Regions from separate parts of the Homo sapiens genome. Here regions 1, 2 and 3 are each linked to region 4. Evidence: promoter capture Hi-C in 16 types of primary human blood cells and fetal thymus (Javierre and others, 2016). All regions are on one chromosome and are shown on one strand. Each heading gives the region's core, a stretch centred on a gene start or on the middle of the fragment in contact. The rest is flanking DNA. Distances are from core to core; before and after follow the strand shown.

Region 1 (5,521 bases), core at 1,735-4,234, 300 kb after region 4:
CAGACTTGCGAGGCTCCTAGGTCTGCACACTCTGAGTGGGAAGGGAATCGGCCAGGCCCTTGCTCCACGGCAGTGGGAATCTCTCTGGGCCCAGCAGGGAACTTGCTTTGCCGCAAAGCACACAGCCCTGGATGGCAGCAGCCTTGGGTTCCAGCCTCCAAGATGGCATCACCAGAATTTGCTCATCTTGTTTGGGGGTGGTGGTTGGCTTCCGACAGCAGTTGAGCCGAGAGACCATTTCTGTGTCCCCTGCAGGAGATCACTCAGATCCAGTCCCACATCAGTGACATGTCTGTCATCCTGTCCATGGACAACAACCGGAACCTAGACCTGGACAGCATCATTGACGAAGTCCGCACCCAGTATGAGGAGATTGCCTTGAAGAGTAAGGCCGAGGCTGAGGCCCTGTACCAGACCAAGGTGAGCTGGGCTGAGGTGGGGCCAGGGAGGGTGATGCCAGCGGGCAGCAGATGGAGACAGATCGTGCCCAGAATAGAAGCAGTGTCCCAGTAAGTGTCTGTTGTGTTCTGATCCCAAGATACATGCACTCCCACGACACACTCATGACTCTGTGCTTTGGGGTCCCCAGTTCCAAGAGCTTCAGCTGGCAGCTGGCAGGCATGGGGACGACCTCAAAAACACCAAGAATGAAATCTCGGAGCTCACTCGGCTCATCCAGAGAATCCGCTCAGAGATCGAGAACGTGAAGAAGCAGGTGAGAGCACGTTGGCCTTGGCCTGTGGTCAAGTGCAGGGGAGCATGAGTAGAGGGGAGATGAGCTGCTGAGAACATGGGCCTCCCAGATCGCTGCCTGGGAGAAGAGAGAAGGCCAGTGAGGTCGCTGCCTCAAACACCTGGAGCAGGACGTCCCTGGGGGCTACTCATCTCTGACTCACTCCAAGGACCTCAGCCTCGAAGCCCCTCCTTAGAAAGCCTCCTCGGCACTGGGCTAAGACCTTCCCCCAGCGATGTACCCTCCTGGCACCTGTGCTTCCCTGTATTTGTCACACTTCCTGTTATTACTGACACTGCCACTAGACTGAAAGGGGGCAGGGAGCTGGCTGCTTTGTACCCTGTTTCCCCAGCATCTAGCACAGTGCCTGGCACATAGTTGCAGCTTGATAAACATCTGTGGAGTTAATGACTGAGATGGAGAAATGGGCTCAGGGAGCACCCATTAAGGTGCATTGTTAAGGATTGACTAGGGACTACTCCCAGGAATATAGGATGCAGCCTCGGCTTGTAGGTGAGACACAAGATGTACATATACGATAGCAATGGCAGCGGCACCTATTCTTCTATCGCACTTCATCCTCACCAAGACCCTGAGAGGCAACAGTTGCCCTCGCTGTTGTTACAGATGAGGAAACTGAGGCTCAGAGAGGATAAGGGGGTTACACAGCTGGTAAGTGGCAGAGCTGTGATCTGAACCAAGGTCTCCTGACTCCTAGTCCAGTGCTCCTTCTATTCTTTTGTGGGCTTTAACACTTAGTTGCTTTGTGATCTTGGACAGGTTACTTCTGCTCACTTCACAGGGTGTTGCAAGGACTAAATGCGTTAAGTTATGTCAATGGTATGTACAGTATTGAGCCTGGTGCTGGCATACACTAAGTGCTTGGCAAATAACGGTTGCTCCCGGGGTGTGTCCTTCCCTGTCCCCCTCGACTGTGGTGCCCTGTTCCTGGGCAGCTGCTGCCTTTGCGTCTGCCACAGCATATTCGACCATCTCTCCTCCCAGACCTAAACAACTCAAGAGTATTGCTGTCATTCATTTCGTGCCCTTGGCACAATATGGCTGAATAAATGTCTCTATGCTGAACTAAAGTGGCGCTCAGGAGGGCATGGCTGCATGATTTCCATCACCCACACATCCAACACAGGGAATGGGGCTAGAGCTAAGGAGGGAGGTGCCAGCCCCAGAAGGGGCTCTGCTGCAAGGAAGTGTGATGGTGTGTGTAGGGTGGAGGCGGGCCACTCTGCCCCACTCTAAGGACCCAGAGGGATTGGATGTGGATGGTTGCAGTGGCTCCTCCAAATTTTTCGACTTCACCAATTCCTTCCTTAGGCTTCCAACCTGGAGACAGCCATCGCTGATGCTGAGCAGCGGGGAGACAACGCCCTGAAGGATGCCCGGGCCAAGCTGGACGAGCTGGAGGGCGCCCTGCACCAGGCCAAGGAGGAGCTGGCGCGGATGCTGCGCGAGTACCAGGAGCTCATGAGCCTGAAGCTGGCCCTGGACATGGAGATCGCCACCTATCGCAAGCTACTGGAGAGCGAGGAGTGCAGGTGGGCGGGGCGTGCCCAGACAGGAGGGCCCCAGGGGTTTGGGAAGACCCAAAGGAGAAAGCCTAACACATCTCAATCCAGAAGAGATGAGTTCTTAGGAAGTGATGGGGTGATGAGGATAGAAATAATCACAGTAATTAACAATACTACCATGAGTGGACATGAGTATCCACTCAGTAGACTGTGAGAGCTTGCTTCATGGCAGGCACTATGCTATGTAGTAAGCTATGCAGATTTGCTCGTTCTTCCTGGGCATACTAGAAACAACCACCGCCCTGCTCCCTGCAAAACCCCATTACTCTATTAGGCATTCTTGTTCCCTCTTCCTGATCTGTCCATGTGCAGCTTGTTGGGGGTGTGCCGGGGCAGCCACCCCAGCTTCCCCAGGGCTCTACAGGGATGGCAGGCTGGTGTGTGGACCTGACACGTGGGAGGTAGATACACTGCCCCTACGTGTGCACCTTTTGTAAACTATTGTTTGACTAGGGTTGTTGTCTGGTTACCCCAAAGATTTGGGGGTAGTCTCCAAAACTTCTCAGGCTCTGCTTGCATCAGAGAAGCTTTGGAATTTCCACAGGTGCCTGTTGGGTCCAAAAACCCACATAAGGCTGATGGTGGCAGTAGCTTTAAAGAGACTGAGCTGGATGACTTCTCTTCTCCTCTTATTTTATTTCTCTCCTTAATAGGATGTCAGGAGAATTTCCCTCCCCTGTCAGCATCTGTAAGTATTTGTATACTTTCACCTAAAATTGTAAAATCTGCAGCCTGGAAAGGACCTTAGTGACACCCTCTGTGTGCAGATGAGGGATCTAAGAACCAGAGAGGGAAAAGCTTTGCCTGAGATCACAAAGCCAGATGGCAGAGCCATGGCCAAAATCGGCTTTCCTGACTCCCAGGCCAGGCCTCCTTTATTCTTATCCCTCTGACTTTCTGTTCCTAGGGGATGGCAGCAATGGAAAGCTATTGTCATGGGAAAGCAAGGGTTATGTTGTAGAAAAATGATGCATGGGTCTGTGTGAGGCTTAGGGAGTCAGGTTTGCAAACTGCAACCAGACTTGGGCTTGGGAAGTAGGGAGGGCTGAGGGAATGAGAGAATGAGGGATCTTAGAGGTCAAGCTGGCAGTATCAGATCACTGCATTGCTTAGCAGGGCTAAAAGAGTTAAACCAGAGCTTGGGAAAGATGCCTGCTGTGGGACAGCTAGCAGGAGGAAGAGGTTAGAGGCTGGGAAGTTTAGCAAAAAGGCTAATAGAAAGGGCAATGGGTGGGTGTCCAGGAGGACAGGTAGGGGTATTGGTACCTGGACCAAGGAGTAGGGCCTCTGAGCATTAATGGGGCAAGACTCAGCCAGATTGGATATAAGCCGAACAAGCCAAGGACAGAGCATTAGGGAAGCTGTCTTTGGTACATTCTCCCCAGGGAGAGGGAGCGGGTGTGCACCTCCCCACTCAGCTTCTCCAAGAAAAGCCCTGTCTGCCCTGGGGAAAAGGAGGCCTCCCCAGCTCTCTGCCTGAGTGGGTGTTGGCTTCGGCTCCTCCTGCAGCCATCATCAGCAGCACCAGTGGCGGCAGTGTCTATGGCTTCCGGCCCAGCATGGTCAGCGGTGGCTATGTGGCCAACAGCAGCAACTGCATCTCTGGAGTGTGCAGCGTGAGAGGCGGGGAGGGCAGGAGCCGGGGCAGTGCCAACGATTACAAAGACACCCTAGGGAAGGGTTCCAGCCTGAGTGCACCCTCCAAGAAAACCAGTCGGTAGAGAAGACTGCCCCGGGCCCCGCCTCATTCCATGACCCGGCTCTGGATCCCACACTGTACTTCCCACAGCCCACTCTCAGCTCCATCTCCACCCTGCTGGTCCTGCTCCCATACACCTGGCACTGGCCTTGGCCACCCACTTCTCCCAGCCTGTGTCTTCCTGATCCTGGGAAGGCCTGGATGACCAAGCTTGGTGAAATTCCTCCCTGTACACACCCTATTAACTCCTTGGCTGTGGTCCCCCAGCTACACCACCAGCCCAGGTCCTGGCTGCCAGCTTTCCTCCTCTGCCCGGCCTCTAGCGCAGTCGCTAACTACTCTGCTGGGCTCCCTGGGTCTCTGCCCAAGGCCCCGCACACACTGGGACCTAGCATAGTTCCTGCCTATGCCAGGAGCTGGCTCTGTGTTTAAGAAAAGGAGGACTGAAGGACAAACAACCAAGAGTGGCCCAGTCCCCACCCCCACATCTAGCTCAGTCTCAAATCTGAGTGGGACCAAGTGCAATTCAGGGCCTTTTTCTCCACTCACCTGCACCCAGAAGCAGAGAAAAGCAGGCACTGTTCACTTTTCCTTTATTCTTAATGGCCTTCCTCTGTTGCAACCTCAATAAACAGCACAATCTCATGGCTTGGTCTCTGAGTATTCAAAGTATGCACATGCACCTCAATTCACTCACATGAGCGCGCACCATGTACATTCATGAATGCATGAAGCACAAACACACACACACAAGTACATCACTGTGTATTGCCCATGCAGCCTATATGTCTGTGTTAATTTTCAGGAGGCAAATGGGGTGTGGAGCAGGGTCTGGGAGGAGGGGCAGGGAGGGAGGAAAGGAGAAGCCCAGAAAGCGTGTGCATGTACTGGCTGGAGGCTTCAGCAGATGGACATGCACAAACTGTGTCCAGTGACAGAGAAATGGTCGTGTTCCTGACCTGACCTTGCCTCTTTCTGAGACTGCACCTTTCCTCGTTGGAAGGTGGGCTTAGTGCACAGGTATTTGCATTTGTCCAGCCCTTTTCTCACCGCTCAGAGGCCTGGCCTCCTGCGGGGGTCAGCAGGTGGGAGTCCCACACTCTTGGCTTCTCAGATGGAAAGATAAGTAACAAGTCTTGGAAGTTGGGGCTGGTGTAGGGAGGAGTGAGCTGGGGTCCCACCATGGGGTGGGGGTGGGCTATGAATTTCAGTGACTGGGGGGTTGGCACTGCCCCAGACATACTCCTATCCCACCTTCCAGAACCACTATGGTGATGGCCAGTCCTGCCTTGGTAAGGGGTGTAAGGAGAGTGAACAGACAGATTCCCTAGGCCAGCTCTGTGTCTTGGGTGGGGAGGGGAGGTGTAGGAGGCTCAGGGCATTTGCAGGTGGGTGGGAAGCCAACGTCTTTGCAGTGAGTGGGCAGCGACCTAGTCTCACAGTAGCCACACTAATGACGTCATCTGGGGGAAGGAAGAGGGTTTCAGTTTCATAAAGGAGCAG
Region 2 (4,969 bases), core at 431-2,930, 320 kb after region 4:
CAATGTCAGGCACACAGTAAGCACTCAGTATCCATTCACTTCAAAGAAGGGCTGGAGGAAATCAGGTCCAGTATCACCAAAAGCAACGAGGCTACATATCTCAGTGAATGGTGCTAATTTCTTTTCTAAGTGGGGCAGCCTCATGCAAGGAGCTGGTCAGTCTCTAAGAGGCCACAGGGTGGTTTGGCCCATCCCAAAGGATCCAAAATGCCAAATAATGCTCAGGCTGGGTTATTCCATTTCATACTCTCCTGATCATGGCCTCTGCTCATCCTGAACAAAGTGTTGCAGGGCCCTGTTTGAGTGTCTTGGCCATAAGCGGTTGTGGGGTTTGGAGAGGGGAGGAATAGAGCGAATCGCTGAAGCTTGGGCCAAGACACTGGGCTACTCCCAAGGTATTAGGAAGTATCAGCAGTTGTTAGCCACGTCTCATGCATCTGGAAGGACTGCCCCAGGAAGCATCTGGGCTTTGCCCTGGGCCTAGTGCCAGGGTAGGAGGGAGATGGGTGTCAGGCGATCCCCAGGCTTCCCCCTTGAGGACATTGTATAGGATTTTATAGGGAACCCCAATCCCCTGAGTCTTGCCCCAGAGTCTTAGTGGTCCTGCCCTGGGTTCTGGCAGTTCAGAGAAGGGAGGGGGTCTCCAAGGGCACCTCCCCTGTCTATACTCCAGGGCAGGGGTCCCTCTCTCTTGGGGCTGCTGGAAGATGTTATGGTATACTGACTGCTGAGTGGTATCTGGGGCCCTCTCTGTTTGCTGCCTTCACAGACTATCCGGAGGTTGAGGCCTCTGCTGAAGTCATCCTCTTCAGAGTCAAATCACAAGTCCTGCACTGAAAATCCAAGTGCCCACAATGGTGATGACAAGGGCTTTTGGAGACACCCTTGCCTGGGCTCTTACCTAGGCTCTGTCACTTGCCAGTTGCTTACCCTCTCAGGGCATCAGTTTCCTCATCTGCAAAACAGGGATCATATTAGGCCCACCCCACGAGGCTGTGAGGAGTAAATGAGTTGATACATCCAGAACCATGCCTGGCTCACAGTCAGTGCCACTCAAGTGTGGTGATTGCTGTCATCTTTCACCAAGCCACAGAGCACATCGAGGGCTCAGGCTCATCCCATGCTGTGAGCTTTTTGGGGATCATGAAAGTCCAGAACTTCAGAGAGACAAGCTGCCTAGAAATCGTCAGATACATCTCCACATCTCCCCCATTTGCAAGAGACTGCCAGAGAAGGCATCTGGGTCCTTGTTTCACGTTTTGTGCCAGAGAAGATGGGAGTGGGGAGGCACAGTGTAGGGAGGGAGGGAGCAGGCAGAACCAGCACTGAGCACTGACCCTCTAACATTAAATCGGGAACCGGCCGACATGGGGTTGAGGCTGTGAAGGGATCCACCTGGCTGGAGAGTGGAGGTGAGGCCGAAAGGCCCTGGGGACCAGGGACTTGTGAATGAGCAAGAAATAGTGGGAGTCCTTGACAACTGTTACAGAGGATGTGGGTTTGACTGGAGGCCCAGCTAAGTACTGTGAGGCTCTGGGCACGGGCAGAGGGAGTCATGTGTGAATTCTAACTCCTTATTATCAGCCACTGGAGTAGAGGCGATCAGCGTCTGCAGACTGGTGGGACCTCATGGCCTAGAGCAGACAAATGCCTTGGAGGAACAGGCTTCGGTGCTAACTTAGGCTTGAAGGCCAGTCTGCTCCCTGGAAAGACCCAGACCAGCACCTGGACATGAGGGCTCTGGACAGGGGAGGGGTGGGGAGCAGTAAAAACACCCTCACCCATCACAGTCACCTGTCAGCCCTGTCATGCACACAGCCCTCGGGAAATGGCTCTCTGAAGAGGACTGAGACGTGCAGCCTTGGACTGGGAGACAAGTAGGCTCTTGCTGAGGCCCAGATGGGCAGTGCAGGGCAACAACAGCGTGTGGGACAGGACCAGGACCCAGGCTTGGCTCTCACCTCACCTTGCCAAGGGCTTGGCGTTAGGCTCCACCTCCCTGAACTCAGCCTGTTCCTCTATGGATGGATCACTGGGCTGGTTTTTTTCTCTGAAACCAAGTCAGGCCAGCTTCCCTAACCCGGCCCTTGCACAGTGACCCGTCACTGTCAAGTGGTGTGGGCCACCATCCTGGGTCTGGTAAGGAGATCCTAGAGGAGACCCAGCCCTGTTCGCAGTCCTGGAGTCTGAGGGAGGAAATGGGGAAGGGTACAGGGTCACACAACCAGAGTCCAGAAGTCCAGTGCATGGCATCTGCCTTGGCCAAGTCACACATGTGGAACAGGACCTGATTCAATGACTGGCATGAATTGAAACACTCCTGCACGCTCTCTTGTCTCAGTTGCTTTTTGCACTGCGTCTCCCTTGGAAGAAGCCTTAACCTGTTTTCACAAACCCTCAACAGTGATCGTTGGTCCAAGTGGACAGTGAGCAGGTCAGTGTTCACATGTGCTCACGGAACATGAAGATGGGAGCTGCGAGTGTGTCCTGGAGTCTGAGGGAGGAAATGGGGAAGGACACAGGGTCACAGTCTCACATAGACGGTGGGACTGGGGCCAGCAAGGTGTCCCATGGCCTTGAGGACTGTGCAGATGCCGAGTGCATTTCCTGAGGGTGGCCCTGGGAGAGGCAACAGCTCCAGCCTCAATGCTGTCATTTACTTTCTTTTCTCCCTCACCATATTACCACCTTCTGTACTGATTCACCCCACCTGCCCTCCACCCATGATCAGAGCTCACCTGACTCACCCCACCTTCCCCCCACCCATGATCAGTGCTCACCCAAAGCAGGAAAGCCAGATGGAATAAGGCTCTGTCTCCGGCACTTGCCCTCCCTCCCAGGACCAGGAAGCCCTGAGCCAAACACAAACTTGGGGAGGGGGGCAGCTGTAGCGTCTCCTCTGCCTCCCCGTTCCCAGTTGTGGCTACTGGTGAGAGAACAGAAAGTAGCAGGGAGAAATGGAACAGTGGGTGAGTTGGGGATGTCAGCAAGCTTCCTTCTGCACCTCTGATGCTGCAGGGATACAACCTGGTGTAAATGAGTCATGTCTCTGCCTCTCCACTGAAGAGGGAGGCTGCAAATCCCCAGAGTATGGGACACACTGACACCTACATTGGACAGCCAAGCTGAGGAAGTGCTAAGAGCCCTTCTTTGCATGCTCTAGTTTCATATTCATATATGTAAAGTGTGCAGGGCAGTGCCTGGCACATGGTCACTCCTACGTAAGTGTTTATTTAAAAAATAAAACCACCCTCTATGAGAAAGCAAAGCGCAGAGGATTTTGCTGTATATCCTTTTTTAGTCCCTCTGACTAATTAAAGTATTTGTTGATTTCCAGCCCATAGTTTCAATCAACCAAGGGGGATTTTCAAAGAGTTTGGTGTGCCATGAGCAAAACACCTTTCATACGAGGGAAGAACATTCCTCAGACTTGCAGGGGCCTGCTGGAGGGAAGCGGAGGGCTCTGCTCTGCACCCTCTCCTGCCAGGGCCAATCGGCTGCTGAATCTAAGGGATGGGGGCCAAGGCTGCTCCCCACAGCCCCCTGCAGGCCTGCCCCTCCCTTCCTGCTCAGCCCCAGCCAGCTCAAAATTAAAATTCCAGCTTGCATGGCCCCTCCAATGAGCCCAGGCCCCTCCCTTCTCTCCCAGCTGCACTGGACAAAACTATGCAGTGAGAGGTTAGGCAACTTGCTCAGGGTCCCAGACCCATCCAAGGACTGGGTCAGGACCAACACATGGTCTGGAGTGGTGCCACATGCTTTTGCACCTATGCTGTGACCCACAATGTGTGCGAAGCCCGTGCACAAGAAAAACTCAACTCCAGGGGGTAACTTGTCACTATGACCTCAATAATGGCAGCAGGGACTCACCTCCAAAGGCCCTCTGAGCCAAGGCTGAGCAGTTGCTTTATGTCTGGACATTTGCCTTTCTACCTAGTCCGGTTTTCAGACTGGGGTCTGAAAGCCCTAGAGACATTGGGCTGTAGGAGGGAGGGGGTGGTGTGTCCAGCTCTGCAGATCCAGAGTGGCCACTCCCCTCAGGGCCCTGTGATTCTGAGAATCTAGCTAGGACCAGAGCTGGGACCCAGGTTGGGATGGGGGCAAGATTCCGCTGGCTTTGGGTGGAGGCAGGAAAATTCTTCCCTCAATTCCCCCTGAGGCTAGGGCTTTGTGAAGAGCTATCTTGGGCTGGCCCGCTGTTCCATCTGCCCTTCCCCATCCTGCGAATCTGGCTGCAGGCTCCCTGATGGGGCTGCCAACCATAGCCCAATGAATAGGGTGACTCACACCTCAACTATTGCTCCCCACTTTTTGTGCTGAACAAGCGTGAGGTGGAAGGGCTGCAAAGTTGAGGCCACTAAAGCTTTCTTTCTCTCCTGGAGGGGCCTGGGGGCTGGGGTGGCACGTGCAGGCTACTTGTTAGTGGGCTCAGATGCAGAACACCCTCAGAATAAGGGTGAGGGAAGAAGAAGGATGGAGGGAAGCCTAAGGAATAAAGAATCCTAAATGCTAGATTAAATCCTAAATCCTAAACACAGAGCATACCCAGTGTGAAGGGGACAACAGACTCATCCTGTAGACACGGACTGAGAGACAAAATCAGATGGACAAGACTCTGAGACTCAGCATAGGGCTGGAGGATTCACAGAAATATATGTGAATATATATAATGTATATACATTCTGTTATACATAGGTTGGTGTAGATATAGGTTGGTGCAAAAGCAATTGAGGTTCTTGCCATTGTGGGCTTCACATAACAATCTGGGGAAGGAGCGGAGGAAGAGGATTTTCTGTCTGTCAATTCACTCCAAAAAATATCTGCAGAACACTTCCAGTGCCCAAGGCTGGGCTGAGGGTGTGGGCCATGCAGAGATGTTCCCTAACCTTGGAGACTGCCCTGCTGGGGGGGACTTAGAGGATATGTACAAATGCTGTTTTATGGAACATGTTCTATTTATCATGCTCTA
Region 3 (5,353 bases), core at 1,197-3,696, 260 kb after region 4:
CTTGACTATCATGTGCTCCCAGGACGTGGATGCTGCTTACATGAATAAGGTTGAGCTCCAGGCCAAGGTGGACTCCTTGACAGATGAGATTAAATTCTTCAAGTGCCTTTATGAAGGGGTAAGGACTTGGCTGACCTCTCTTGTGAGATCTGCTCCTTTAACAAGAGGTTTCTGGCCCCTGGCTGGAAGGTGGTGTGGACCAAGAATTGGGAGGGAGAAAGCTTTCAACCTGGTGCCCCTGACATTCACCAAGGCCCTACTGGGTGCTGAACAATGAGCTAGGTTTTGAGGAGTCCGTGAAAGAGAAGAAGTGATTCTTGCCCTCCAGGAGTTCACAGCTTGGCAGGAAAACACCACGTAGCTGAGCTTTCAGAGAGCAGAGGAAGGAATGGTGGGTTCTGCCTGGGCCATCAGTGAAGGTTCTTGGAGAGAGAGGAGAAAGAGGACGATTTCAGTGGGTGCTGAGGGGGGCAGAAAAATAGAAGGTCCAGGAGCCTGTCCTGTGCTAAAGCATGAGGAATGAAGAAGGGCGCAGAGGCCTGGGGAAGGGACTGGTGCTAGTGACTCCCTAGGGGACTTCACATGCTAGGTAAAGAGTTCAGACTTGGTCCTATGGGTGGAGGGTGGCGGTGGCTGGTTTCTGAGGATGAGAATGTAGAAGGGTGCAGGAGTGCTCCTGAGTGTGCAATGGAGAGAGGAGTCTCAGCGTTTGGGGCTGAAAGCCTAAGGCACTTCTTCACGTGCCTGCCAGGCACTGGTGCTGAGGCAGAGTTCAAACGCTGAGGAAAGGCAGAGGGACAGTGAGGAATTTGCCCAGGGAGGACCAAGAGAACTGGTTCCTCATGAGTACCCCTTAACTAGCTCCCCTCCCCCAACCGTCCCCAGGAGATCACTCAGATCCAGTCCCACATCAGCGACACGTCCATCGTCCTGTCAATGGACAACAACCGGGATCTGGACCTGGACAGCATCATTGCCGAGGTCCGTGCCCAGTACGAGGAGATTGCCCTAAAGAGCAAGGCCGAGGCTGAGACCCTGTACCAGACCAAGGTGAGCTGGTGCCAGGTGTGCTGAGTCCCACTGGCCACAGCTAGCACCCTCTCAGTATGTGTGCATGTGTACGTGTGTGTGCGTGTGTTTGTGTGTGTGTGTGTATTTGGGCTCAGTCAAGACCTCCTTTGTCTTGAAGTTGGGCCTTGCGGAAATGCCACCCCAGGGGTAAGGGAGATTAACTACAGTCTTGGCTTGTTTTGCGGACATATATGGGGCTTAGCCCTTCTCCTATCACGGCCCTTGGCTGAGGCCACACCAGCTACAACCCTGATAGGATTCTGACACAGTTTCTATGGGTAATTCACATATATTGTCTTATCTTCATGTTTCCACTTTGGCAAAATGAGGATAGGAAATTCACACTCTGCCAAGGCTCTCATGTTTGAGAACCTGAGGATCTTGTTGAACTAGGGCAGGATCCTTTCTGTCCAGAAGAAAAGGGACCTGCCCTAGTTCAGTAGGATCCTTGTGTTCCTCTTCTCTTGTCACCCAACCTCAGATCCAGGAGCTGCAGGTCACAGCAGGCCAGCATGGGGATGACCTCAAGCTCACCAAGGCTGAAATCTCTGAGCTCAACCGCCTGATCCAGAGGATCCGCTCAGAGATAGGGAATGTGAAGAAGCAGGTGGGTTCTATGAAATTAATCCACTAACAGTATTTATTGAGTCACAATCTGGGCCAGACAGAATATGAAGAAAGGGTAAAACACAGTGCCCTCCTTAGGGCCTCCTCTAATTTACCAGGAGAGGATGATCTGAACAGATATGGAGGGATAAAGCAGCCTACACACTGTAGGTAAGTGTTACAGGAGCCCAGAGGGGTGAGAGGTGAATGAGGACCCCAGGGAAGCTTTGCAGGAGGTAGGATTACACCAGGAGAGGGGAAGGAGCAGGTGAAGGAGCCCGCAGGAGCAATGGGCCTAGGTAGTGATGTGCACAGCACGTGTGCAGGTGGGCTTGCCTATCTGGGGCAGGCAGCTCGCTGCTCAGCAGGGGTGGCAGGGAGCAGGGTACACCACTGGGTAGGAATAGGTAAGCCTTGGGGTTTAGACCTAACGCAGGAGGTAAAAGGGAGCCATTTGAAGGTTTCCCATGATGATACCTTGTGGGAGGAGAGAGAATCCAGCAGGAGATTTTAGAACAAAATGGAGGAGGCACAGCCCCCACAACCCAGATCGGGCTCAGGGCCCTGCACTAGCGTGGGGCCTTCCTGCACTAGTGCTGTGCTGTGGGGAGGACACTGCACCGAGGTCCCCCTCTTTGGGAGGTAGTACCCGTGCAACCACATCTGTGGCTCTAAAGCAAGCAAACCCATGAGTCCTCAAGTTTGTGAAAGCAGTGCAAGGGTTTAAGGCTCTCAGCTCCCAGGCAAGTCAAGTTGTCCCATCTCCTTACCCTCCCCTGCACCCCATCTCTCACCACGCATGGTGCATGCTTACACATGTACACACACACACACAGACACACACACACGCACTACTCCTCTGTGCTCATGGTAGTGGGAAGAAGAAAGACCAGCATTAAATAACTTAAGTTGTTTTTGTTTAATCAAGAGCTATATAAGTGCAGAAAAAACGCAGATGTTTGAAGCTACCCTCAGTATTCTACTACAGTGTTTAACTAATGAAATGCTATGTGTTTATGGTTGGACGAAGTTATTACCAGAAACTGACTTGCTTTGGTGGTCAGGGAAGATACCCTCTGCGGGGAACAAATGGGGATCCCTCGCAATGCTGAGTCCCCATTGCGGCTCCTTTTGAGGGCCCTCAGCTAAGGTGCTTCCTGCCCTTCTGGCCTCCTCCATCAAAGAAGGCCACCATGTCACATGCAGAGTTCCTTGGCATTTGGTGTCCTCAGCATTCATGTGACATTTGTTTCAAAGGATGCTAAAATTTCAAGTCCTCTCAACTCGGGCCATGTTCACAAGACCCAAGCTTTTGGTGTCCCTCTGCCCCAGGTTCACTGTGTGGGATCTTGGTCAGTAAAAAAGAACAGAAGACAGTTTGATGAGTTCAGGTGACAGTGTGTGTGGCCACTCCATGAATGATTAAAACTTCTACAGTCCCAAGGGTGGGGCAGGGTTTTCTGTGGTTAGAAGGCTGGGTCCTAGGCATCTCCTTGAGGCTGTGAGCCACTCATCCAAAATACGAGGGCATTGGCACTGCTGTGGGCCTGCCCAGCAGAGGAGGATGGTGGCAGCTGGACAATATTCTAGAGCCCATTTGGCCTTGGATCAGCTGCTTTCCTTGGTGTGAAGCAAATGTGGCTCCACAGATGGGCATACCCCAGAAAGAAAACCTCAGCTCCCACCAAAACCTTAGCTGAGGGAACATATACCAGACTGAAGGGCTCAGGAAGCCCCCTGGGGGCTTTCACATAAGTGCAAGCACACAGCCCCAGCTGCAGTTATGCAAAGCTATCTTCTTTAATTAATTAATTAATTAATATATATATATATATTTGAGATGGATTCTCCCTCTGTCACCCAGGCTGGAGTTCTGTGGCACAATCTGGGCTCACTGCAACCTCTGTCTCCTGGGTTCAAGTGACTCTCCTGCCTCAGCCTCTCGAGTAGCTGGGACCACAGGCAGCTGCGTGCCATCACTCCCGGCTAATTTTTGTGTTTTTAGTAGAGACGAGGTTTCATCATGTTGGCCAGCTGGTCTTGAACTCCTGACCTCAGGTGATCCACCTGCCTTGGCCTCCCAAAGTGCTGGGATTACAGGCATGAGCCACTGTGCCCAGTCTATTTTATTTATTTATTTATTTTTAATTTTAGTTTTGGTTTTAAGTTCTAGGGTACATGTACGGGATGTGCAGGTTTGTTACATAGGTAAACGTGTGCCATGGTGGTTTGCTGCACCTATCAACCCATCACCTATCAACCATGCATCTTGAGCACAGCATGCATTAGCTATTTTTTTTAGCTATTTTTCCTAAAGTTCTATCTCCCTCCACCTGCCAACAGGCTCCAGTGTGCATTGTTCCCCTCCCTGTGTCCATGTGTTCTCATTGTTCAGCTCCCACTTATAAGTGAGAACATGCGGTGTTTGGTTTTCCGTTCCCAGTTAAGTAAAGGTATCTTCTAAGCCTGTTGCCATTTAGCATAGTTCTCTTTGGGATTTGGGGACCAAACTCTAAGTGTGGCAAGTTTATAGGACAATTTATTAATAGGAACTTTATTAGCCCTCATGTTTTCCCCATGATTTATGGGATCTCCTAAAACAACCTGTACACTGCAGAGCTGAATGAAATCTAGCTGCTCAGAGACTTTTTTTCAGAGTTGACATAAGAATCTTACAGCTGATATTTCAGGCCAGGAGGGAGAGGGCAGGGGCCATGTGCCCAGGCCGCCCTCTTTCTCCGTGCCTTCCCCTCCTCCCTCCCAGGTGAAGGTTTTCTACTTTCAGATGCAGAGGCATGAGCCAGGGTGAACCATGCCTGGAGTTAGGGGAAGGACAGACTCACCTCTAGGGATGGCCAAAGTTGGATAAACCAGGAGGATCTCCAAGCAGTTGCCATCAGTCAGGACAAAACAAGGGGAGGTTGTCCAAGCAAGATCTCAGAACTGGGCTCTGACTCTTAAGTGCTGGATCTGTTTGCCCCTCAGTGTGCCGATCTGGAGACGGCCATCGCCGACGCTGAACAGCGGGGGGACTGCGCCCTGAAAGATGCCCGGGCCAAGCTGGATGAGCTGGAGGGCGCCCTGCACCAGGCCAAGGAGGAGCTGGCACGGATGCTGCGTGAGTACCAGGAGCTCGTGAGCCTGAAGCTGGCCCTGGATATGGAGATCGCCACCTACCGCAAGCTGCTGGAGAGCGAGGAGTGCAGGTGAGGGGCCGGATACCCTTGTGTCGGGACCAGTTTTCTCTCTGCTTTGGTAGGAAGCTCCAAGGCAAACAGTTTGGTCCTGTTTAGGTCCTACTGAAGTAAAACCATACAGCAAATGGGCTTGTCACATGATTAGGAAGGCCAAAGTTAGACAGCAAGAAAGACCAAGTTGTAAAAAATCCCAAAGGCTGTGGGAGAGGAGGTATTAATGCCGGCAATGTTTGAGAAACAGCATCCCCGACCGTTCATGGTGCATTTTTGTGGGTGGGGGGAGGAGCAAGATGGCCTCTAAGGGCTGTCCAAGTTCAAGGTCGCTCCAGCAAAGCCTGGGGCTCCAATGGGGAGGTAAGCTCATTCTTCTTAATCGTCTAAGAACAGTGGCATGACTAGAGGGAAGTGGAGGCCTAATGATCCCACACAGCAAGCAGTTCTAAAGGGTCTTGATGGAGGGCTGACTCCTTGCAGCAGAT
Region 4 (5,593 bases), core at 1-2,500:
TTACAGGTGCCTGCCACCACGCCTGGCTAATTTTTTGTATTTTTAAGAGACGGGGTTTTACCGTGTTAGCCAGGATGGTCTCGATCTCCTGACTTCGTGATCCACCCGCCTAGGCCTCCCAAAGTGCTGGGATTACAAGCGTGAGCCACCGTTCCCAGCTTAGGAGTATTTTCTAAATGCACCTTGCTTTTTTTTTTGAGATGGAGTCTCACTCTGTTGCCCAGGCTGGAGTGCAGTGGTACGATCTTGGCTCACTGCTCAACCTCTGCCTCCTGGGTTCAAGCAATTCTCCTGCCTCAGCCTCATATGTAGCTGGGATTACAGGTGTGCACCATCACACCTGGCCAATTTTTGTATTTTTAGTAGAGATGGGGTTTCACCATGTTGGTCAGGCTGGTCTCAAACTCCTGACCTCCAGTGACCCACCCACCTCGGTCTTCCAAAGTGCTGGGATTACAGGCGTGAGCCACTGTGCCCGGCCCTAAATGCACATTTCATTTCAGAGCCTGGGTGGCTCTGATTTGTAACCTCAGGAAGCGGAGCCTGATGGCAGGTGGATGGGCCTGGCCCCAAGTGCTTGTGGAAGGAGCAGAGCCACAGGCTGGGTCAGAAACGTGCTGTCCCATGCGATCCTGGATGGAGATGCCTGATTTCAGTGGGTGGTGCCTCATGGATGATTGCTGGGTTGGGCAAGAGGAAGGACTTGGAAACCCTGTTTTTCTGTTTCATTTCCAAATCCTGGAGTGTCTTTTAGCCAACTATGGCAATAACACCTCCACTAACCTCCTCTCTTTGTGGCGCTGCAAGTGCCTTCCTTCTCCAACTCCTTGAGGCAGATTCTCCCTTGAGAATCCAGGGCACTCTGATGCTTCCTCTGAACCCCTTCTAGCGTTCTTTCCTCTTCAACCTCCTCTCGCTTCCCTGTCTCCTTCAGGAAGCCTTCCCTGAGGGCCTCAGTGACTTTGCTCCGGCCATCCCTCCCTGTCCCTCAGCACTGACATCCCAGTCTCCTGCCTGCTTCCTTGTCTTTGGGCATGCCTATTTCTCCAACAGCCTGGGAGCTCTGAGGGCAGGGTCTGGGTTTCCTTCTCCCTTGGCTCTGCACGTGCCGGACACTTATTCTCCAGGCACGTCAGAGTAAGTCAGCTGGAGCCAAGTGACAGACACAGTCAGGTCAAGAGTATCTTGCTCTCCAAGGCCCAGCCCAGGTACGGGAGTGGATAAAAGTCTCGTGCTGGGGCCCCAGGGCAGAAACTCACACACCTTGACAATCTGTCTGTCCGTCTGCAGCTGCGTGACTGTCTGTCTCTGCCATGTCTCTCTCCCCATGCCGGGCCCAGAGGGGCTTCAGCGCTCGCTCAGCCTGTTCTGCTCGCTCAAGGGGCCGCAGCAGGGGAGGCTTCAGCAGCAGGGGCGGCTTCAGCAGCAGGAGCCTTAATTCCTTTGGGGGGTGCCTGGAAGGCTCTCGTGGGAGTACCTGGGGGTCAGGGGGTAGGCTGGGGGTGCGGTTTGGGGAGTGGAGTGGTGGGCCTGGGCTCTCCCTGTGCCCTCCGGGGGGCATCCAAGAAGTGACCATCAACCAGAATCTGCTGACCCCACTGAAGATTGAGATCGATCCCCAGTTCCAGGTGGTGCGGACGCAGGAGACCCAGGAGATCAGAACCCTCAACAACCAGTTTGCTTCCTTCATTGACAAGGTGAGGGTCAACTCAGCCAAGCCCCTGTCTCTGTGCCTCCCTTGGAGGAGCTGCTCTTGATGGACTTGGAAATGGGAAGTTTGGCCTCCTTCTACCACTTTTCTAATAACTTCTGCAGCAAAGAAGTCCCTCCTGTGGACTAACTGGACTCTCTCTGGCTATGCTGAGGCCCTGTTGTTCCATGATTGGGGCTCAGGGACAGAGAACTGCCAGCCAGCGGGGGGAAGGCCCTGCCCCATTAGTCAGTCCAGTCATTTTGTTGTGTTCAGAGTGTCATGGAAGGTCATGAGGCTTCCCCTGCCCAGGTTGGGCAGGGGGACAGGGGAAAGGTGAGGCTGATGGGAGGGTCCCTCAGGCTTTACTTTCCAGAGGCTGTGCACAGGGAGTCCCACAGGAGCCTCAGGGATCCTCTGCTTTTGCTGCAGGTGCGGTTCCTGGAGCAGCAGAACAAGGTCCTGGAGACGAAGTGGCATCTGCTGCAGCAACAGGGGTTGAGTGGCAGCCAGCAGGGCCTGGAGCCTGTCTTTGAGGCCTGCCTGGATCAGCTCAGGAAGCAGCTGGAGCAGCTCCAGGGAGAACGAGGGGCTCTGGATGCTGAGTTGAAGGCCTGCCGGGACCAGGAGGAGGAGTATAAGTCCAAGTAGGCACACTGAAATTTCCCCATGCCATGTGGGCGGGGTCTGGGATGACTCAGTTTGGGTCTGTCAGCCAGGAGGTGTCCCACATACTGAGCACCCAGAGGCACATGACTGGCCTCCCCTCTACCCCTCCGCGTCCCCATTCCCCAGGCTCTCAGGTGCCCACCTGCTACAGGTAAACGAGGTGTCCCGCAGTCCCCAAGCAGATCTGGAGAACCTTGGAGGAAAGGCAGGGAGACCGGTGTCCTACATGCCCCAGCTACAAGGGCCCATGTTTCCGGTCAAGGCTGGGAAGGGCTTATTTAAACAATGCCCCAGTGGCTTTTTTTATTCTTGAGAAATTCCTGTTCAGCGGGCTGTGGGCTAAAGTGATTCAGATGTTCTCTGGTTCCAAAGAGGGAAGGGAATCAATTTAGTGGGGCTGTCCCCAGGCCTGTGACACAATTCACAGATGGGCTGTGGTTCTGGGCTCCACGCCTAGGTCACCTGGTGGAGTGGAGAGAGCCCTGGACTAATAGGGGGCTTGGGTTGGGGCAACTGTGAGTGAGGGGTAGCTGTGCATCCTGGGCAAGGCATCTCATCTCTCCCGGACTTGGTTTCCCTTCTGTAAACTTGGGAAATGTCACCTGCCCTTCTGGCCTCCCAGGGCTATTGGGATAATGGGATGTGAGGTGGAGGAAGGAAGGTTCTGGAAGGAGCCCTGGATTGGGGTCAGAAGACCTGGGCTGGCTCTGCTTTGTCTACCTAGTCATCTGTGGGGTCTTGGTCAAATCATCTAATCTCTCTGATAAAACCCAAACTGCCTACCTCAAGTGATGGGTGTGAGTAGCAAGTGGGAAAAGGTATTCGAATGTGCCTTATAAACTGAAACAATGTGGCTGTCGTCATCAAAAGGACATGGGCTGAAAGGGTGGCACAGGTACATAGCTAGGACGTGGCAGGAAAGGAGAGAAGGGCTGGTTATTGTCTTGTTTGGGGGCATTCTAAGGCAAGGAGTCCTTTTCAGGGAGGTCATGCTCGGACATGGGGGCATGAGCTCTGACCGTGGAGCCTCAAACTGCATCCTTCTCTACTTATTTGGCAGGTATGAGGAGGAGGCCCACAGGCGTGCCACACTTGAGAACGACTTTGTGGTCCTCAAGAAGGTGAGGGTGGGGGCCAGTGCTCCACTTACGTTCTGAGCATCCACTGTGCACGGAGCCTAGTCCTAGGCTGGGAGGGAAAAGGTGGGAGGTCCTGATTTAGGACAGGCTATCACTCTACCTGCAGGGGTCCCCTGGGAAAATGGGACATCTGCCTAGACACAGGGGCCCCAAGGCAAGATCTGACTAAAGGACTGCTTGACGAGCTCTTGATGTCACTGCAGGAGAGGGCGGGGAGGGAGAGGAAGAAGCAGAACTGGTTGTGATTAATCAGGGAAGACTTCCTGAAGGTGATGTTGGGTCAATGTTGGGCAAAGGAGAGAGCAGGACAGAGTGGGGCTGGAGGAGGAAGGAGGGGGTCTTGGGAGGCATGGTGGATGGGTGTTGAGCAGTGCATGAACAGAATTCCTGAGCCAGAGTAGGGACCCCAAAGAGGAAGAGGGGGTTACGTGTTCTCTCTCCCCTTGTCTCCAGGATGTGGATGGGGTTTTCCTGAGCAAGATGGAGTTGGAGGGCAAGCTGGAGGCTCTGAGAGAGTACCTCTACTTCTTGAAGCATCTGAATGAAGAAGTGAGGCTCAACCAAAGGGCAGGCTGCAGCCAAGAGAGAGGACTGGGTGGGCAGGCTTCCTGTGGCCATGAGGAGAATGGCCAAGAGGGGAAGTCTGTTAGGGTGGCTTAGATTCTGGGTCATTCAGTCACTTGACAACCAATTACTGAAAACTTACTATGTGAATTGCTAGGTCCTGGGGATACATCAATGAATAACCAGAAAAAAATCACTACAGATAAAAAAATTGCTTTTTTTTTTTTTTGAGATGGAATCTTGCTCAGTTGCCCAGGCTGGAGTGCAGTGGTGCAATCTCAGCTCACTGCAACCTCTGCCTCCCGGCTTCAAGCAATTCTCTGCCTCAGCTTCCCAAGTAGGTGGGATTACAGGCACCCGCCACTGCGGTCAGCTAATTTTTGTATTTTTAGTAGAGATGGGGTTTCACCATCTTAGCTAGGCTGGTCTTGAACTCCTGACCTCATGATCCACCCGCCTCGGCCTCCCAAAGTGCTGGGATTACAGGCATGAGCCACCACGCCCGACTAAGTTTGCTTTCTATTGGGAGACAGACAATAAGCAACAGACTTAGTAAATAAGGAAATCATATAGTATGGAAGAAGGTGATAAACGCAATGGAAAAAAGGAAAATGAGAACAGAGAAAGGAGGATTGGGAACATGGAGCAGGTGCCAACTTCAAATCATGTGGCCAGGGTAGGCCTTATTTAGGAGATAAAATCTGAGCAAAGATTTGGAGGAGGTGAGGAAGGTCACCACGCAGGTGGGTTTCTGGGATTCCAGGCAGTGGCTGCAGCCCACAGCGGGAGTGTGCTGTCTGAGGAAATGCAGGAAGGTCGGTGTGGCCAGAGTAGTAGGAGCGAGAGGGAGAGGAGTATGATAAGAGGTCTGAAGATGGCTGGGCACGGTGGCTCATGCCTATAATCCCAGCACTTTGGGAGGCTGAGGCAGGTGGATCACCTGAGGTCAGGAGTTCGAGACCAGCCTAGTGAAACGCTGTCGCTACAAAAACACAAAAATTAGCCAGGCTTGGTGGCAGGTGCTTGTAATCCCAGCTACTAGGGAGGCTGAGGGAGAAGAATGGCTTGAACCTGGAAGGCAGAGGTTACAGTGAGCCGAGATCACACCACTGCACTCCAGCCTGGGCAACAGAGTAAGACTCCATCTTAAAAAAAAAAAAGAAGAAGAAGAAAAAAAAAAGAGGCCTGAGGAGTGATGGGGGCTGGGTGATTTTGGGCCTTGCAGGCCATTTTCCATTAATGTCCAAGCTGCAAGAGACTTCAGAGACCACCTCCTATGGCTCTCATTTTTGAATGAGGAGATCGAGTCCCATGGTGAGCAGGGCATACTCAAAGCCACCTGGGATGAATGGGGGTCATGGCATGTAAGCAGAAATTCATCATCCTGCTCAACCATCCTAGGCTTCAAGGGGAGAAGGAGCTGGGGGTGAGTGGACACTGAGTCTGTCTTCCCTGCAGGAGCTGGGCCAGCTCCAGACCCAGGCCAGCGACACGTCTGTGGTGCTGTCCATGGACAACAACCGCTACCTGG

Evidence for each region. Contacts are between HindIII fragments. The CHiCAGO score rates a contact against its expected background, and 5 or more counts as called.
Region 1: a fragment that was not itself captured here is called in contact with the fragment with the promoter of KRT78 in region 4 in 3 of 17 cell types (naive CD8 T cells, non-activated CD4 T cells and erythroblasts); the score reaches 6.1 in naive CD8 T cells.
Region 2: a contact is called between a fragment that was not itself captured here and the fragment with the promoter of KRT78 in region 4, in 1 of 17 cell types (naive CD4 T cells). The highest score is 5.7, in naive CD4 T cells.
Region 3: a fragment that was not itself captured here is called in contact with the fragment with the promoter of KRT78 in region 4 in 12 of 17 cell types (naive CD4 T cells, M1 macrophages, endothelial precursors and 9 more); the score reaches 12.8 in naive CD4 T cells.

The regions. Positions count from the first base shown.
Region 1 is chr12:52,543,051-52,548,571 of GRCh38, reverse strand. KRT71 (keratin 71) reads left to right here. Exons shown (of 9, transcript NM_033448.3): 5 at 256-420; 6 at 590-715; 7 at 2,066-2,286; 8 at 2,973-3,007; 9 at 3,829-4,663. The coding sequence ends at 4,040. Among named protein-coding and RNA genes, the nearest start is that of KRT71, 7.3 kb to the left of the region's middle. RefSeq lists enhancers at 1-405, 406-907. The HindIII fragment of the contact is 271 bases long and covers 2,849-3,119 here.
Region 2 is chr12:52,523,239-52,528,207 of GRCh38, reverse strand. No RefSeq gene overlaps it. Among named protein-coding and RNA genes, the nearest start is that of KRT5, 5.3 kb to the right of the region's middle. RefSeq lists an enhancer at 4,942-4,969. The HindIII fragment of the contact is 2,626 bases long and covers 368-2,993 here.
Region 3 is chr12:52,587,161-52,592,513 of GRCh38, reverse strand. KRT72 (keratin 72) reads left to right here. Exons shown (of 9, transcript NM_080747.3): 4 at 23-118; 5 at 886-1,050; 6 at 1,553-1,678; 7 at 4,663-4,883. Among named protein-coding and RNA genes, the nearest start is that of KRT72, 12 kb to the left of the region's middle. RefSeq lists an enhancer at 2,933-3,102. The HindIII fragment of the contact is 1,084 bases long and covers 1,905-2,988 here.
Region 4 is chr12:52,844,651-52,850,243 of GRCh38, reverse strand. KRT78 (keratin 78) reads left to right here and starts at 1,250. Exons shown (of 9, transcript NM_173352.4): 1 at 1,250-1,697; 2 at 2,123-2,337; 3 at 3,420-3,480; 4 at 3,952-4,047; 5 at 5,521-5,593. The coding sequence starts at 1,314. The HindIII fragment of the contact is 13,226 bases long and covers 1-5,593 here.